2 separate regions of the Homo sapiens genome follow, and region 2 is linked to region 1. The links are contacts of gene promoters, found by promoter capture Hi-C in human tissues and cell types (Jung and others, 2019). All regions are on one chromosome and are shown on one strand. Each heading gives the region's core, a stretch centred on a gene start or on the middle of the fragment in contact. The rest is flanking DNA. Distances are from core to core; before and after follow the strand shown.

Evidence for each region. Contacts are between HindIII fragments. The study calls those that stand out against the background at their distance.
Region 2: a fragment that was not itself captured here is called in contact with the fragment with the promoter of PEX5L in region 1 in 1 of the 25 tissues and cell types used here (lymphoblastoid cells).

Annotation. Positions count from the first base shown.
Region 1 is chr3:180,034,688-180,040,540 of GRCh38, reverse strand. It overlaps PEX5L (peroxisomal biogenesis factor 5 like), which reads left to right and starts at 3,604. Exons shown (of 15, transcript NM_016559.3): 1 at 3,604-3,962. The coding sequence starts at 3,942. RefSeq lists a silencer at 3,489-3,538. The HindIII fragment of the contact is 6,291 bases long and covers 1-5,063 here.
Region 2 is chr3:179,880,256-179,886,108 of GRCh38, reverse strand. All of the region lies in intron 4 of PEX5L (peroxisomal biogenesis factor 5 like), which reads left to right. Among named protein-coding and RNA genes, the nearest start is that of PEX5L-AS2, 15 kb to the left of the region's middle. RefSeq lists an enhancer at 2,841-2,900. The HindIII fragment of the contact is 5,520 bases long and covers 1-5,343 here.

The sequences.
Region 1 (5,853 bases), core at 2,355-4,854:
GAACATTGCTGCCATCTCCTCGTCATCAGAGTCCACATACTCTTATTATTCATAATTCTTCCTGGCAGCCTGGGGTTCCCAAATTTTTTCCAGATCAAATGCCCTGAAACACCAGCTAATCTCATTCTATGTGTCGAAGAGACAAAAAGGGTAAGTGGGCAAACTTTAACAAAATGTTCCTCCTTCTGATTGAACAACAAATACCAATTAGTCATTTTAATTTTGGTCTACAATTATTTTGACTTTTGTTCTCTCCTGCACCATCTTTCAGCACCAGAGTTTGAATTCTACAGATTATGAAAGAATGATTGAATCATCAAAAGACTCTTATCTCTGATTTTTAAGTCCACAAGAACACTAACCTCATCATTTTTACTAAGTTTTTTCAAAGATTTAATAAATCCTGAATTTTCAATACCCATTTGAAATGCAGGAGGATTCGCTTACTAATAAGCAAAATTAAATTTTGTCAATACAAAATAGATTCTACTGCTACCTCTCAATTATTTAATTGTATTACAGTGATTAAAATTGCAGTGGTACTAAGCACATTTCTTGCTGTAAGAAAGCTGAATGTGCTATGATTTTATGCCAAGTCCACTGACCACTCAAAATACAGTGAGATTATTTTATAAATGGAGTGCAATATGCATTCTTCTTCTCTAGTGGTACTGAGGTTGCTCATGTGTTATCACTGCAAAAGGCAAGAGCTAGCTTTGCCACATATTTACATGAATAAATAAACCTTCTAGGCCACAGTGCTGGTCAAATTTTATGGTGCATACAAGCACCTGGGGATCTTGTTGAAACGCATATTCTAATTCAGTAGGTCAGAAATGGCACCCAAGAGTCTGCATTTCTTACAAGCTCCCAGGACATGCTGATGTTGCTGGTCCACACACCACGTTTTGAGTAACAAGGGTCTTCAAATTTAATTACAAAATAAATCTTTTGTAAAATATTTTTCTGGACCTAGCTTATTAGACATGCATTGTTTCTGAGGAAAATAAAGATAATTCAAATCTCATTCCTAGTCTAAGAAATAGTCTAGGAAAGTGAAAGTTAAGCTTAACCAATCAGAAACCACAAACTAACCTCTAACTATGGACTTTCCATTAGAATGATCCAAATAAATCCAGTATTCCTCTTTAACCAAATAATTTCTTTGCTCTGCTTCCACATTTACCCTATAAAATCTTTCCCTTTAACGACTTCCGACAGAGTCCCCAACTGCTTTCGGTCTGCTGCTGCCTGATGCATGAATGGCTATTTGCTCAAAAAACCCTTTAAAATTTTAATGTGCCTTAGTTTATCTTCTAACAGAAGGAATAAGTGTGAAGAGGAATTCTTCACAAAGGAAAGCTTTCACTCCTGAGATTTTGAGAATGTAGGCAGTAACGAAATCAGTGACTCAGGTTTAAGAAGAGAATATATTGAGTTCTAGCTTCAACACTAGGCAGTTGCCATTCTGATCCAAATGCTTTTATGGTTGTTGGCTCCTTGAACCTGCCGTTAGATAATAACAAGCATATAATGGATTGGAAAACTTTGACCCTATTGTTACTTCACAGATTTCTAGTACTTTTAAATCAAAGCACTATACTTTTCCCAGTTTTTATATAACATGATAGTATTATATGATAATTAGTACCATTTTAAAATCTGCAGTACTTGAGGTCTCAGAAAATCAGTCCTCATCTTTTCTGAACTGGGAAAAAAAAGTCTGTTTGCATATTCATATATCATGGTTGGTAATTTACAACTTCCTTTGCATACATTCAGTCCTCAGCAGCTCTGTGCAGCACACTAGGTAGATATTTGTCTTATTTCAAAATTGAGGAAATAGAGAGTTGGTACACTTGCCCAAGAGAGCATTGAGGTAGTGAGATGGAACTAGCACCTCTTGTTGCTGACTCCAAGTCCTGTGCTTTGTCCTATAAAGAACAATAAAATAAGAACTGGATGACATTTTACAGTTTACAGTGCTTATGAACATATCTCTATTTTCAGGGTAAAAAAAATAAGTTTTTTATACAGAGTTTAGACATGAAAAAACTGATGTCCAAAGTAGTAAAAGGAAATTGTCCAAGGGTAACTACTAGTGGAATCTAATAGGAATCCATGTCTCCTGCTTACAGGTCTTAGTCCTTTTGTGTTTGTTTGGTTGGTTGTTTTAGGACCTCAGATGCATTGAATTGGTTCATTTCACATCCTTTTGTTCATTTCACATTCTCCTCATTAGTCCATACATGGTTCTATTTTATTTAGTTACACAGTAATTTTTAATAGGATATTAGGTGTCCTATGAATCACTACCCGGCATAGAAGATAAGACATTAACATCTAAACTTCAAGTGAAATGCTTCCCCATCTATTTCCCTGCCTCCCTTCACCCAGGGTCACCAACACTCTGAACACTATATTCATTGTTCCACTGCTTTCCTTTTTATATTGTTGTATATGAATATATGAATACACATTGACATTTCTAGGGATTTTTTAAACTTTATAAAAAGCATATTATGCTATATGCAATATTTTGGGGATATCATGCTGTACATAATATGAGGGGCCTGTAGAATTGGAGATGTTTTTACCAACAAAATTAGGTAATCACAGTATACACCACCCCGTGGTGTGTGTGTATATATGAACATTTATTGTGTAGACACATCAAACTACCCAGTCTCAACTTGAGACATATTTAAATGCACTCTTCATATATGTGTGTATGTGTGTGTAAGTGTATAGTAGTAAAGGTCTATTCATTCAGCAAATATTTATTGTGTGCCTGCCATGTGTCAGGAAGTACTAAATACCTTACTGTGCACACACGTGCAAAACCAAGTGCAACACTCCACCCCCCTAAAAAAAAGTCCCTGATCTCATGGAAATAACATTGTACAGAGGGAGAGACAGACAGTACATAAAATAAATATGGAAAATATAAAGGATGTTAGGTGATGTTACGTGCTAGGGAAAAAAATAAAACATGCCAGATCCTCAGGGACTAGGGTTTGCCGTTTTAAATAGAATGCTCGGCGATGAACTGGGGATGAGGGGAGCGGGGAGTCTTTATTTAACGGGTGATACGGACGTAACTTTCGAGAGCTGAATCAGAACCGAAGTAAACTCTTCGGCAACCCCTGCACTCAGCCTATAATGTCTGTAGGATAACAGGCTCAGCCGCGGTGGATGGCCCCCGGAGAGACGATGCATGTCTTCCCGCCTTTCTTCCGGCCGGCCATCCTCTCCGCTAGAATCGCCCTGCCCGCCGACGCCGCACCTGAACGCCGCGCTGCTGCGGGCGTTGTACACCAGCGCGACCACCGCCTGCCGGCACCTCGCCTTGCCGCCGCGCGCGCGCAGCCCCGAGGACGCGCTCGGGGAGCGCGCACCGCCCGGGGCCGCCCTCGGGCCGCTCCCAGGCCCCTGGGAACGCGCGCGCGTGCCCGGTCCCGCGGCCTCTCGGCAGGCACGCGGCTGGGAGAACGGCGCGCGCCCCGCTCGGCAGCTGCGGCGGCGGCTGGTGTAGGCGCTCACGTCAGGGCTGGGAGGAGGGGGTTCGCAGCTCAGAGAGAGAGAGACATGAGGCAACCTGGCAGGAAGCGAGAAAGAGTTCGGCGAAGAAGGAGTGAGTTCTAGAGACGCCCCGCGAGCAGGACCCGCGCCTGCAGGAGAGCCTGGCCGACCCGGCTCCTCGCCTTCTCTGCGCGCTCTCCCGCGTCCGCTTTCAGCACCCCGAGCGGAGAACAGTTCCCGGCAGCCCGCAGCGCTGCCGAGTGGCCGCCGGCCGGCCGAGTACCCGGAGCTCCAGGGGGCTCAGGAGCACCCTCTGAGAACCCGCTGTGCACCCACCTTTTCCCCTCTTTTGGTGGGCAAGTAAGCACGGGGGAAAAGCATCCGGTGGCCTCAGGGAGCCCTGAAGAAACCGAAGCAGAATGTACCAGGGACACATGCAGGTAAGACATTTCTATAGGGCTGGAGAGAATTCTTGGGGGCTAATTTAAGAGCAAGGCGGTTCACCAAGTTTCTGTGGTCAAGTGCTGCCTTCGCACAGCTCAACAAGTGAAGTGATGCAACATGACCGTGACATTTCTGTCCGGTGCTGCCGGGAAAACTAGACCGGTTTCCGAAGGTGGGAGAAGGGGAGGGAAGACCTCAGAACTTCGATTGGGGAAGTTTGTTTTCTGTGCATTCCCTGAGCCTGTTTCTTTAAACAGGATCAAGGAATCGAAACAGAGGAAACCCTAGAGATGACCGTGTTTCCGTTGTAATCCTATTGATGCATCTCAGCATGTATGTCAACTGAAGGGCAAACAATAATAGGAAAGACAAAGCTTTTCCTTTACCATCTGAAAAGGTTGCTTGACTTAGAACACTCTGTCACTTTCGTTTCATTTTTTAAAGTGTTATATTTAAAAAACGATTTATAGTGTATTTTCCCCCTTCACATTATGGGACATTGCCATCTACTCCAATAGTCACAGGATGACTTGGGAGGATGAATTTCAAACACATGTCCAAGGAGCTCTAATGTTTTTCAGGGGAGGTGCTGCCTCCGGTTGTTATTAATATTCATCTGAGCTGAGCCGCTGCTTCTTTCCGATGCAAACACACTCTACTCTCTTGGGCAAGATTACTTTAACCTTGACTCCAGTTCTCATTCATACGGTTGGTTGGTTCTTATAAAGGCAGATATATGCTTTGGGAGAAAAATAAAATACTAACTCAGCTTTCTAAAGTATGAACTGGACTCTTTATCGCACCTAAATGGTTTAGTCATCAGGTTTGATGTTTGGGCTTCCTTTCCATTCCAAAGATGGTCAAATACAATCATTATGTGTGATGCCTTTATCCTGGTGTATAACATTTATGAATACTGAGGATTTTGCTTCTGTGTCTTTTAGAGCAATTGGAAATAGATAAATATGTTGTTATATTTATGACTTAGTACTACCCAGATTTAATTTCCATAACTTAGGGAAATTCTTTTGGACTATAATCCATTTTTAAATAAAACACAATATTTCATCATAGTCTCAATTTTTATAAGAATTCTCAATATACAGTGCCAGAATTCCAAAAGATTTCCCGTATGACTAACATCATCCTGTTTTGAAAATTATTAATGTGATTATATCACATTTGATAGACAAAAAGTAGTGAATGAAGTATATTTTTAAATATTATATATGATCAATGTGATCTGCATGTTTCTTATAAAAGCTACACCAATTGAAAAGTTAAGTAACATAGAAGAATTCAAATAATGACTGCTGAAAAAATTAACAAAGAATTATTACTATAGTTTTATGCTTCATCTTCACCCAAGAATGATACTTACAATTTTATATATTATCTGTTTTTTAAACAGTTTCTTCACAAGGGTAAAACAGGAAGATTTTAATAGAGTCAACCCTCAAAAAATTGTTCATTTACACAAAATTGACAATTGACCACTAAGGGGAAATTAACAAAAACTTTGCACAGTATTGTTTTGTTGCTTAAAAAATATGTTACTGTGAATGAAGAATCGAAGCAACAATATGGTAAATTCATGCACCCAAAAACAATTTTAACTCAATTTTCTCAATATCTCAAAGGAGAATGTTATTGAAACTTGAGTTGCCTGGAACAATGTCTGAGGGTTTAATTTCACTTTGAAAGAATAAACAAAATATAAGACTCTGCATATTCTCCCAACTTAATGTCTTTTGCTTGTGCACTGCTGTAACAGCAAATATGATGACTTGCAGTAAAACTCACAAATCTTTGCTGCCAAGCTTAAATTAAAACATTACTAAATAAAGACTGTAATCAATACATCCACCAAAATTTCAGAGCATAATA
Region 2 (5,853 bases), core at 1,334-3,833, 150 kb after region 1:
GAAAGGATCCACCCTGAGAGAGCAATATAAGATTTGATTCAAAAGCTTCTTTTCAGCTTGATTGTTCTAACATATGGAAGAGAGACCTGTGAAATACTGTAGGAAAAAAATCAAAAGAATGTGTAATTTCTTGCAATCCCAATATCTACAATGTTGCCCTCTGTATTAGTCCTAGGGCTGCTGTGACAAAGTACCACCCACTGAGTTGATTCAACAATGGAAACTTACCATCTCAGTTCTGAGGGCTAGAAGCCCAAAATCATGCTTTCAGGTGGGCCATGCACCCCATGAACGTGCTTAGTGAGGATCTATTCCAGGCCTCTCTTCTAATTTCTGGTACTGCCTTGGTTTATGGCAGCATAACTCCAATATTCATGTGGTGTTTTCTCTGCATGTGTGCTTCCCAGTGTGCATGTCTGTCTCTGTGTCCAAATTTCCACCCCCCGCTTTTTTTTTTTTTTCTGAGACGGAGTCTCGCTCTGTCACCCAGGCTGGAGTGCAGTGGCACGATCTCGGCTCACTGCAACCTCCGCCTCCTGGGTTCAAGCGATTTTCTTGCATCAGCCTCCCAAGTAGCTGGGACTATAGGCACCTGCCACCACGACTGGCTGATTTTTTGTATCTTTAGTAGAGACAGGGTTTCACTGTGTTAGCCAGGATGGTCTCAATCTCCTGACCTTGTGATCTGCCCACTTTGGCCTCCCAAGGTGCTGGAATTACAGGCGTGAACCACCGCGCCTGGCCCAAATTTCCCCTTTTTATAAGGACACCAGTCCTATTAAAGTAGGGGCCCACCCTATTCTAATATGACCTCATGTTTAATTATATCTCGAATGAAACTGTTTCCAAATAAGGTAATATTCTGAGTACTCAGTGTTAGGACTTCTACATAGACCACTCAATCCATAATACTCTCCAACGTAGGGGGTCTGGAAAAATAGTGTTCTGAGACTGGGGATTTATTTTTTCCCACCTCCATTATTCAGTGCACCTGGTTCACACAGATTTTTATCCTGAAGAAAGACTCTTATTTGATAAGTGTTTTTAATATTAAGCGTATATCTCAAGGCAAAAATATTATATATTTTTAATTCGTAAGAAATCTAGTTTTTATATAAATCAATACAAAATAAAAAAAATTTAGGAAATATTTACCTCTTCTGGAGGTCGGTCAGTGATTTTTTTTCTCTATGAACCCTAAAAGAACGTATCTTTTGCCTCATAGAAGTTCTAAATTATAATTTTTTTCCACCCAGTTCTATTAGATTATCTGAAGAACAAAAGTTTTTGAGACTGCCAACTATTTAAATCATTCCTTGGACTATCCAAACTGCCAAATAATTAGAAGCTAAACAAACAAATGAATCAAAGCCTTATCAATAAAGTCAGCACCCTGCCTTAAGGTTTAGATAAAGTCTAGAGAGGACTGTGCAAGAACACAGGCTATGGAGAGATGAGACCTGTATCCTGTATTTGAATCCTGGTGTAAACACTGACATACCAGTTATATTAGTTTTCTATTGTCACCGTAACAATTACCACAAATCTAATGGCTTAAAACAACACAAATTTATTATCCTAAAATCAAGATGTCAATAGAACTACATTACTTCTGGAGGCTCCAGGACAGAATTCACTTCCTTGCTTTTTCCAGCTTCTAGAGGGCACCTACAATTTGGTGGCTTATGACTCCTTGCTCCATCTTCAAAAGCAGCAGCTCTCTCTCTCACATTGGTCTCCATGTCCTTCTCTGGCTCTGACCCCCCTAACTGCACTTTATAAGAGCTCTTGTGATTACATTGGGCCCACAGGGATCATCCAGATTAATCTTTCAGTCTCCAAATCCTTAATTACATCTGCAAAGTCCCTTTTGCCATGTGACATGTCAAGGTAACATATTTACAGGTTCTGGGGATTAGAATGTGGCCATATTAGAGGGGGGCGTTTTTCTACCACACCAGCTGTGTGATTTTGGACAAGTTACTTAATATTGCCAAGCCTCAAGTTTCTCATATGTAAAATTAGAATACCTTTTTCACAGAAATGTTATGTAGACTAAGTAAGGAAACACTCATAAGCACTTACCATATTGTATATTTTCAATAAATAGTTTTTGTAATCATTTCCAACCTCATATATCTACAGTTTGTGTCAAGCATGAATGCTTTCAGTAGAATCTTCTAGTAGCGATAAATATTTATTTGCATCATGACTATGCTTATAGTGCTGTTCCAAGAGCTGTAGATAAGCACTTCATCCAATACTTTATAGTTTTATCCTTATTTTAGTGGGCAGAGTTAAGGTTCAGAGAGACATTTTTTTTTGAGACGGAGTTTTGCTCTTGTTGCCCAAGCTGGAGTGCAATGGCATGATCTTGGCTCACCGCAACCTCCGCCTCCCAGGGTCAAGCAATTTCTCCTGCCTCAGCCTCCAGAGTAGCTGAGATTACAGGCATGTGCCACCACGCCCGGCTAATTTTGTATTTTTAGTAGAGACGGGGTTTCTCCATTTTGGTCAGGCTGGCCTTGAACTCCCGACCTCAGGTGATCCGCCTGCCTCAGCCTCCCAAAGTGCTGGGATTACAGGCATGAGCCACTGCACTCAGTCAAACTCAGACAGTCTTAACCACTGTCCTGTGCTGCCTTATTTTATGCACAATATTCACGGAACATCAGGACACCAAAATAGATTAGCTGAACTAAAGTGAAGAAGACAGGACAAAGTGCTACAAGGGTGACTGGCAAAACATAGCCTGCTCAGAAGCAACTGAGCTGGAAATCCCCCTGCTACAGCAAATAGAAGTGAAGTCAGCGACATCCTCTGGGCAGTGGGATCCCACAGCCTATGAAGCTGTGAGTGGTGACTGACATGTGGTCCATGAGAAAAGTCTGCATATGTGACAATAAGATTACACCCTGAAGGTATTTTATTAGATCTACACTATCACACGCATACACACACATGTGCATACACACACGCACACACTTTTCACGTTCATTGTAAGAGGAGATTATCCTTTGTTCCTTTGTGCTCCTTTTTTTTAGAGACAGGGTCTTACTCTGTCACCCAGGCTGGCTCAAACTTCTGGGCTAAAGCAGTCCTCCCACCTAGTCTCCCGAGTAGCTGAGACTACAGGTGATAGCCATCACTCCTGGCTAATTTTTTTTAATTTTTTTAATTGTTTTGTAGTGACTGAATCTTGTTATATTGCCTAGGCTGGTCTCAAACTCCTGGCTTCGAGCGATCCTCCTGCCTTGGCCTCCCAAAGCACTGGGATTACAAACATGAGCCAACACACCTCACCGGTTGGTGCTCTTAATTTAAGCACACAGATACTGAAACCCAAAACTTCATGTGCCTGAAGGATCTTTAAAATAGGATTTAAGAAATCAGCAGAGCAGACACCACCTACCATACCAGGGCTGTCTTTGTGTGGAGCAATAAGATTCTTACTTTTAAATCTTAGCTAAAGGACACACACATGCTAAAATGTGATTTGTCTTTCTCCAGAGAGTGAAAGGCTACACCCACCCTTCTCTCCTTTTGAAAACGTACTCTGCAGGGACTTTCCCAGCTTCAAAGCTGGCCATTCGACCTCCAAGCCACCTCCTTCATCAGCTGGGTAACCAATTAGGCTTTCTGTGTGTGCCAAGCATTTGTTTCACATTTGCAAGAAAAAGAACAAAGGGACAAAGAGCTCAGAACAAATACAGGAATTGCCCAGGACACTTTGGAGGGGGAAAGAACCTTACTGAGCCAAGTTTGAATTCACAGTTCACCCTTTTAGTAATTCATTTATTCTGAATGTGAGAAGAAGATATAGAATTAAATTAGTACTTGCCAGCTGTTATTCCATAACAAATGTACTTCCTATGTTCAAGTAGACAATTTTATAATTTGCTTCTAAAAGTCTAGGAGCAAGTGACTAACTCTTAATTGTTTGTACAATTAGTAAAAAGATGTATATGGCATTCTATATTATGCCATCAATTTCCTTTCCTCCATTATAAGGACATCACATTGGGCCTAGACTCCTTGCCAACATAATAGTGGTCTGGAAATTTCTATTTGACCATTCAGTGGATATAAAATGTGAGGCATTCTAGCCTATTTTGGCTGTCTGCCATGCTTACATTTTAGACATAAAGCCAGGCAGCTTAGTTCTGAATGTCACTTCTTTCCCTCCACGTTCAAGTACTTCCTAGCCCCAAAACATCCCTCGTATCTCAGGGCATCTTAGCATTGGGAAGTGGTTCCTATTGCCTCAGGAAGATTCTGTTGAGATAAGCTGACACTTTCAGGCCACTTTATGATAAATTTACTTCATAGGATCCTCTGTAGAACCAATATCTTTGTCTCATCTTCAGTTTTATTCCCAGTAGCATTTTCTCTTTCTGTCAGTGTATGGATCTGATTCTTGTCTCAAATAAAAAGGAGCAGTGAAAATAGGAGAACATCAACAACAACAACAAAAAGGATAGAAAAAATCACAAATTGGCTGTAAAAGAATGGAAATCACATTTATTGAGTACCTATTGTATGCCTGGCACTTTACATACATTAGATCATTTAATCCTCATCTTATCCCTAAAAGACAATTAATTCCCCATTTTCAAATGAGGAAACTGAAACTCAGAGAGATCAAGAAACTTACTTCAAGTCACACACTAAGCCGTGACAGAGCCAGATGTTTCCACTTCACCAACAACATCCAACCACTGTGACTTGGAATTGGAATCAGAAAGCAAGATTATTAAGAGTAAAGTTTGACACACCATCCTAAAGATCCCATAGGAATGGTTAACTCATGAAGCCCATGCACTACTAAAGAAATCCAGGTTGTGAGTTCAATGGAGCCCGGCCCCTGCCTTGAGTACAAGGGAGAAGCAGACAGAAGAGTATTGAGACATCAGCAAAAATCCATCCCCCACCTAGAGGAAAAGCTTGGAGATTAAAGAGGAGTGCTGCAGTCATTGTTGTAGACTGCCACAAAGGGTTAATGCAAGTGGTTTCTTTGTCTTTCTGTGGCTTTCCTACGTGAGCTGGGTGAAGAGATTCCAGGCCAGGGAGCCACCGATCTTGCTCAGAAGCTAGTCTCTCCAGTGCAGTGCCAGGGCCAGTGAAACAGCAGGGACTGGTGGAAAGGTAGAGCTGTAGGGACCTTCTCCAATTTGAATTTTCTATCTCTCACAATGAGCTAGTCAAACACTGGTTACGTGCACTGTAAAAGAAGGAAGAAGCTAAGGTTATAAAACTTGCTTTTTTAATTCTCATTTGCCTTATTTGCATTTGAACAAGTTATTATTTCTGCTTTCATTAGAGTATTTAATGCAATGTAATCAACCTGCTAGGAAGTAAAAGTGTAACAGTTTTATAGTTAGTTACATTGAAATTCAAATTTGCATACTAAACAGCAAAGGCATTAACATGTGTACCTATTCATCAACTATGGATTATAAAATACCTCTCTTGGGTGAACCCAAACAGGATGCCATTTTCTGATTGAACTGCTTAATTAAATAAAAGATGATTAACAGCATTGCTTTATACCCCATATACTTTATTGTTTAAAATTAAAACACAAAGACATTCAAAACCTTCACTAAATCTCTGAATATGGTAGATTGACTCCTCTCTGGGAAATTGCAATCTAAAATAACCTTCAGTATAAATAAAGCAAAGCAATAAAGTAAATAGCACCTGAACTCAGATTCAGTTTGATCATTTTAATTTCATTCAAAGCTTCATCATTGCTGAGGCTGGTCTAAGTCCTTTCTTACCAATTTGTGCCATACCAACTATAAGAATAACATGCAGCAAACATCCCAGTCTAACAAGCTGTCTCTATAAATC